Linked DNA regions of Homo sapiens: region 2 is linked to region 1. The links are contacts of gene promoters, found by promoter capture Hi-C in blood cells and fetal thymus (Javierre and others, 2016). All regions are on one chromosome and are shown on one strand. Each heading gives the region's core, a stretch centred on a gene start or on the middle of the fragment in contact. The rest is flanking DNA. Distances are from core to core; before and after follow the strand shown. Region 1 holds the start of JAKMIP2 (janus kinase and microtubule interacting protein 2). Region 2 overlaps JAKMIP2 (janus kinase and microtubule interacting protein 2).

Evidence for each region. Contacts are between HindIII fragments. The CHiCAGO score rates a contact against its expected background, and 5 or more counts as called.
Region 2: a fragment that was not itself captured here is called in contact with the fragment with the promoter of JAKMIP2 in region 1 in 2 of 17 cell types (fetal thymus and megakaryocytes); the score reaches 5.9 in fetal thymus.

What each region holds. Positions count from the first base shown.
Region 1 is chr5:147,781,474-147,785,361 of GRCh38, forward strand. It overlaps JAKMIP2 (janus kinase and microtubule interacting protein 2), which reads right to left and starts at 1,255. Exons shown (of 22, transcript NM_001270941.2): 1 at 983-1,255. The HindIII fragment of the contact is 4,284 bases long and covers 828-3,888 here.
Region 2 is chr5:147,650,796-147,654,281 of GRCh38, forward strand. The region is part of intron 3 of JAKMIP2 (janus kinase and microtubule interacting protein 2); the gene reads right to left. The region is part of intron 3 of JAKMIP2-AS1 (JAKMIP2 antisense RNA 1); the gene reads left to right. Among named protein-coding and RNA genes, the nearest start is that of JAKMIP2-AS1, 93 kb to the left of the region's middle. The HindIII fragment of the contact is 184 bases long and covers 1,408-1,591 here.

The sequences.
Region 1 (3,888 bases), core at 5-2,504:
TAGACACAAAATAATACCACAAACCGCCTCCCATTCCCATCATTGTAAATTCAGAGTCCTCAATATCATCCCCCACAAACCCAATTAAAAATAAAGAGGCAGGCTACAAATTTGCATCTAGTTCTATGACACAGATCAAACGATAGGCATCTGTTCCAATCGGTCACAATGAAACTAAGGGACAATAACCAGAGTAAATTTCACATTAATCCAAATAAAGCCAATGAATAATAATATAAACCAGAAGCATAGTTTCAAAAACATGCAATTACTTCCAGGCATGCAAGGACATATGTAACCCATAAAAATGGTTGCAAAGCACACCCTACATATAAATATGCTTCATAAATGCAATATAAATGCTAAGTGACATGTGTATATATGATCTGTATATCCATAAGATATACATGTGTAAGTTCACAGTCAAATCTACGTATAAAATAAAACTGGGTCTTGCAAATGATTTCTCAACAAGAGTATATTAGAATATAAAATAAAATGTCAAATTCTGGGGCCACTTTTTCTAAGCAATCAATAAAATAAGCAAAACCACCTTATAATGAGTCTGGTAAGCTTATGAGACACCAAATGTATTTCTGAAGAAGGCCCAACCCTGTATGTGAGAGCTGCAAATGAAATGATTCCTTTCAATAACACCCTCTTCTTGTTGTTAGCTCTTTTTCCAACCCCTGATGCTGTTGCTAAGCTTAGGAAAAAAGGCACCAAGTGGCTCAGTCTGCATTCTGAGCCAGTTAGAGATAAAATCAGAACACCATTTTTTTTTTTTAAACACAAGAGGTTGTCTTCTCACTTCTCTCTTCCTGGCAAGCTTCCTCTCCCTCCATCCTCATCTCTGTCTCCACATCTCCCCCTTCTAGTCTGAGGCACGGGAGTCATTGTTCAAGTTCAGGCCAGAAATGTATACACAGGTCAAATAAGAACACTCTAAACCAAGAAGGGAGCCCTACTGTTTCCTACTCACCATGCTGAGACCCGGAGAAGCTGTTTAAAGGAGGGAGAGATGCAAACTGAATCCATTTTCCTTGTGACCGAGTCGGATGCAGCCTCCGAACCCAACATCAGCAGTGGCTGCCGGTTTTTTTTTTCCCTCTGTCTCTGGTTGGCGATGGTGCGAATAGGAACCACCCTTCCAGCCCCACTAGAGTATCAGCAATAGAGGCGGCGGCGGCGGCAGCAGCAGCAGCAGCAGCATCACCAGTTGGGCCTCCTCCCTCTCGGAGGATGGGGTGAGCTCGGAAGCAGCCAGGAACTTGCAGCAGACACCTCCTCTGGCTCCTCCTCTCTCTCTCCCCCTCCCCCAGTGCCCCACCCCTGCTGCGGTAGAGGCTGCTGGCCCGGCAGCTGCTGGTTGCCATGGCAATGACCAATGATAAGCGACCAAGCTCAGGGGGAGGGGAGATGGGCGAAGCAAGCTGCAGGGTCTGGAGGGGAGTGAATTTGTGCTGCTGCCCTCTAGGATGCTCTTGATGTCTCCTACCCTGAACTCCAGGTCTTTTTAAAAATGGGGCAAGGGGGGCTAGGCACGGGGAGAGAATAATTAAAATTTAATTGAAATCTAGATAGAAACATACCAACGGCTTAGCTATTTTTTGCATTTTCTGTGGTTTTCCAATAAAAAGTATGAAATTTATTATCAGAAAAATAACAACAAATGTGGAGAAAATTATGTCGCATAATAGCAGATTATTATTACTTCCAAACGTGTTCGTCCTTTATAGCATCTTTTACTCAATACCAGGCAACAAGGTTTTTAGAAAGCAAACGGAGTGGCTGGACTTTGTAATAAATTAAGAGTCTGGTTGATTCCTTTGCACTACTCCCGGCTTGTTCTCAGGTGAGTTACTTGGTTTCACTGTTTTTCCAGCTACCCTTCTGAACAGGACTTGGAGGTAATTGACACATCCCTGAGGAAAAGTAAGTTTGGATAGAGACCGAAATTCCTTTCAACAACCACTATTCTCGGTAGCACAAGTTGGTGGACAGTTCCCAATCTTTTTAGTGTCAAACTCCTGGAGCATTCAATTTCCTGCAGGCAATTCCTGTCGTTTTCATGGATGCCTTTTTGGAGTTCCGAAGTCAGTTGGCAGTCAGGGTGGTGGGCAGGAAAAGGGGGAAGTGAAATCAGCAATGTCCAGTTCTAGGCGAGTTCTGTTTCTAACTATAAATTATAGATGACACCAGTATTTATCTCGTGGAGGGGTTGTAAAGATTGAATGAGATAATGCACTAAAAGCACTTGGCATATAGTAAGTGTACAATAAATATTTACTATTAGCAGCATAGTAGTACATTGCAGCCATCTCTTAATCTAAGGGTTTAAGGGGAATAACATGGCAATTTCAGGTAGGAGAAAAAATTAAGATGAGAAAATCCAAAGTACGTAATAACCATGATGATGATGGCAAAGACAGAGAGGCCCTAAGAGATTAAGTGTTCTCTACATCTTGATATTTGAGGACATTGTAAATCTCAGAGGAGTTAGATACATTTCCCAAATTCACAACTGATAAACGACAGAACCGGAATCAAAATGGACTCTTCTAACACTTACATTTGCTCTCCTAACCACCACACTTTTCTGCCACTCCTCCATAAAATGGAAATAATCTTTGTTCTTAATCCACAGAGTTATTTACAGGTTCAAATGGGTTTAACACAAGTTCCAGAGTCAGACGATCTAGGCTCCATTCCTAGCGCCAGTATTTACTATAGGTATAATCTGGAACATATTTATTAACTTCCTCAAATCTATGTTTCTTCATCTGTAAAAAGAAATAATCACAGAACCTCATGAGTCATTACAAAAATTAAACTAGATGACGTGTGTAAAATGTACGGTCTTTAGCAGATAGGAAATGTTCAATAAATGTAGCTACAGTTACTTGTTACTCATTTGTAAGTAACTAATATTAAAACATGAGAAGACTTTTTCCTGCATGGTGTCACTCTTAATGTCAGGGGCTTCTTCTAATAAAACTGGCTTGAAGATAACTAGGTGATGAGGAAAGAGTTGCAGCAGTTCCCCAGCACGTGACACTGGCTTTCCATCCACTTGGTGGGAAAGCCTGCAACCTCCTTTGTGCAGCTAGTGTCCCCTGCCTTCTGTCAAAGTCTCAGCAGCCACACAACCTGCACACACTTCCAAGTCAGCATCACCTATGTGTAATGTGTAACATAAAGGAATGGGATGTGATCATCTCGCTTCTTTTTGTATTCCTGTATTTTATCTTCTGCTTTCTCTGCAGAGATGTTCTTGTAAGTAAGCAGACCAGGAAGCTGCAGGCTGTAGAAGTTATGACACACTAGATGACAGAACCCTCCACACTGTCCTCGGGACAGCATTTCATCCTTAGCGCTAGGAGCCAAATGTCTAGGGGTGGGTGATTCTAGTTTTTCCTCTCCTCCCATCAACATAAAACAGCTGGTCAAGAGTCAATTGGTAAGAGAAAAGTTTGGTGTTTCCTATCTGAAGAAGTATCCAGTTTAACCATTCAAATACAACTTACTCATTTGTTTTTGGTCACGTCCAGGCAGCACTGTTATCATTATTTAATAATAGTTTTCCCTTATTTGCTTTAATTATTTATGATTTACTTGATTTGCTATTTATTCATTTTTTAATGAAATGTTTCTCTGACTTCAGCAAAACATAAATGAAAATTGACATGGTAAAGATAATGGACCCATATGAAGGAAACGAAAACAAATTCTTAATTTTTTTAGTAAAACAAAGACTTCAACTTTATTTATAATAATTTTTAATTTAAAAAGAAACATTAAAACTCTCACCTCTCTATTACCATCCCCTCTCATACCATGTTCTATTTTTCTATATACTATATATAAAATTAATATGAATAATATACT
Region 2 (3,486 bases), core at 250-2,749, 130 kb before region 1:
ATATATTGTTTGAAATAGTCTGGGTTGATTAGATATGCAAAGGACAGTCTAACTTTAAAATAGCCATTAATTTTAATAAAGATGAACATTAAATATTCCACTCTAATGTTTCCTAGGACATTTTTTGATGTCACTTCTTCTTTGGGCAAATGGGTATTCAGATTCAATCAAAATAGCTGTTGCTCCTGTTAGTAGCTGGTCATTTGTAACTGAAGAAACTTCAGACTTCCCAGTGGCCTAGTCATTTTTCCAAGACTAACATGCTTGCATTCAGGTGATGGATTTGGAGGGAGGTCCTTCCACGGTTCATGTGTTATATCTCTTTCTGTTCTCACTTGTATTTCAGAGCAGCCAGTTCTTAGCAACCATTTTATCATTACTATAAGAAAATCATGGTTGGGATTAACAGGAATAGAAAATATCTGGCAATATTAACCACTATTTTCCCTCCCACATGTGTGAGATATATTTATTGATCCAAATATGCATTTCTGCTAAGCCTGGGCATGGCCTCAGAAGAATTTCTCAACTAAAGGCCACAGGCATTCAATACCAGTTGATTTGAGTTCCCTTGGAATGAAACCTTTTTGCCATCCTAGGATGAGGGCTAATGAAGTGAATGTCTATAAACAATTTTTAAAGAGAGCATAGCCATTGGGTGAAACCTTTCTTATCGTTTCACTATATTCTATGTGTACATTCAAAATGGAGATAAGGAAAAGACATTTAATACAAACAACATTACGCTGTTTTGCTTTTTCTAAAAGTGTCTCCTTATACAAAACAATACTTTTGTATAAATTTTTCTTTGCTGTGTGCTCTTAGACCAGAAAAAAAAAACCTGCAACAGAAATGGTGTTACATAGTCACGTATTTTCCACATATAAATATCTGTGAGCTACTGCCTGTGAGTCACATGCTTAAATTTTAGGTCAATTCTGAGAGAGCTTTGGGCTAAATTCTGCATGATCTTGTAATATCATCTGATAACTTGGTAAGAATTCAATATTGTCCCGTTAATTGGGAATAATAGCATTGTCTTTGGTTTCCGTCTCCTTGTAGAAGACTTGAGACCTGTGTTTTTCTTAACTGAGCAGCATGTTCATTTGTCAGACTTGTCAACTGGAGCATTACTTTTATTTGCAGGTTAACATAGCTCTAGTTACTTTTCATGAGTTGACATAGCTCTAGTTGTTTTTTATGTACTCACCTTGTTAAACTTGTCGAGAAATCATTCTATTACTGCCCACATTCAGCCTCATTATCACCATCATCACAGCTGAAATTTATTGATCTTTCACTATATTCAGGGTACTATACTCAGAGCTTAATATGCCTTATTTTATAACAATCCTATTCAGTAGGTTCAGTCGTCATCATTTTACAGGTGATGACTGAGGACCTGAAAGCTTAAAAACTTGGTCATAGTCATATGTCTAGTAAGTTGTGAAGCCGTATTTTTAATGGAATCTTCTAACTATAGAGCCCATTCTGTTAGGTACTATGCTATACTGGCTTTAAGATTATTCATATACTTTAAGCATTTCCCAAAGTGGTTTCCTGTGGGATATATAGTAATTAGCATTGAGAAAGCTTTATTGCGTAGCAGTTATGAGCATGGACTCTGATCTCAAAATACTGAAAATCAACCAAAGCCCTACTTAGATGGGAAAGGGTATAAACCAGAATTCTCTGGGGAAATTTTCTAGACAGAACAACTCCCATTTCTCTCCCTTTCAGTTCCAAAAATGGAGCTTGGGGTAGGGGTAGGCACAGAGTAAAAAGAAGGAAAAAATGAAGATGAGTATATCTGCGCTATCAAAAAAGTTTCCTATGTTATTCTGTGTTCATGCAGTTTGTGAACTACTCATAAGGTGGCTCAGATTTACTTTTTAAAATTTTAATGTTTATTTTACTTTAAGTTCTGGGATACATGTACAGAATGTGCAGGTTTGTTACATAGGTATACATGTGCCATCGTGGCTTGCTGTACCTATCAACCGGTCCTCTAGGTTTTAAGCCCCGCATGCATTAGGTGTTTGTCCTAATGCTCTCCCTCCCCTTGCCCCCACCACCTGACAGGCCCCAGTGTGTGATGTTCCCCTCCCTTGTCCATGTGTTCTCATTGTTCAACTCCCACTTATGAGCGGGAACATGCAGTGTTTGGTTTTCTGTTCCTGTGTTAGTTTGCTGAGGATGATGGCTTCCAGCTTCATTCATGTCCCTACAAAGGACATGAACTCATTCTTTTTTTATGGCTGCATAGTATTCCATGGTGCACATGTACTGCATTTTCCTTATTCAGTCTATATAATTGATGGGCATTTGGGTTGGTTCCATGTCTTTGCTATTGTAAATAATGCTGCAATAAACATACGTGTGAATGTGCCTTTTAGTAGAATGATTTATATTCCTTTGGATGTATAACCAGTAATGGGATTGCTAGGTCAAAACGTATTTCTGGTTCTAGATCCCTGAGGAATAACCACCCTGTCCTCAACAATGGTTGGACCAATCTACATTCCCACCAACAGTGCAAAAAGTGTTCCTATTTCTCCACAGACTCACCAGCACCTACTGTTGCTTGACTTTTTAATAATTGCCATTCTGACTAGTGTGGGATGGTATCTAATTGTGGTTTTGATTTGCATTTCTCAAATAATCAGAGATGATGAGCTTTTTTTTTTCATGTTTGTTGGCCGCATAAATGTCTTCTTTTGAGAAATGTCTGTTTATATACCTTGCCCACTTTTTGGTGGAGTTGTTTGCTTTTTCTTGTAAATTTGTTTAAGTTCCTTATAGATTCTGGATATTACACCTTTGTCAGAAGGGTAGATTGCAAAATTTTCTCCCATTCTGTAGGTTGTCTGTTCACTCTGATGCGAGTTTCTTTTGCTGTGCAGAAGCCCTTTAGTTTAATTGGATCCCATTTGTCAATTTTGGCAATTGTTGCAATTACTTTTGGCGTTTTCATCATGAAGTCTTTGCCCATGCCTATGTCCTGAATGGTACTGCCTAGGTTTACTTTTAAGGTTTGTATGGTTTTGGGTTTTACATTTAAGTCTTTAATCCATCTTGAGTTAATTTTTGTATAAGGTGTAAGGAAGGGATCCAGTTTCAGTTTTCTGCATATGCCTAGCCAGTTTTCCCAGCACCATGTATTAAGTAGGGAATCCTTTCCTCATTGCTTGTTTTTGTCAGGTTTGTCGAAGATCAGGTGGTTGTAGATGTGTGGTGTTATTTCTGAGGCCTCTGTTCTGTTCCATTGGTCTATATATCTGTTTTGGTACCAGTACTATGCTGTTTTGGTTACTGTAGCCTTGTAGTAGAGTTTGAAGTCAGGTAGTGTGATGCCTCCAGCTCTGCTCTTTTTGCTTAGGACTGTGTTGGCTATATGGGCTCTTTTTGGTTCCATATGAAATTTAAAGTAGTTTTTTTTTTTTAATTCTGTGAAGAATGTCAATGGTAGTTTGATGGGAATAGTGT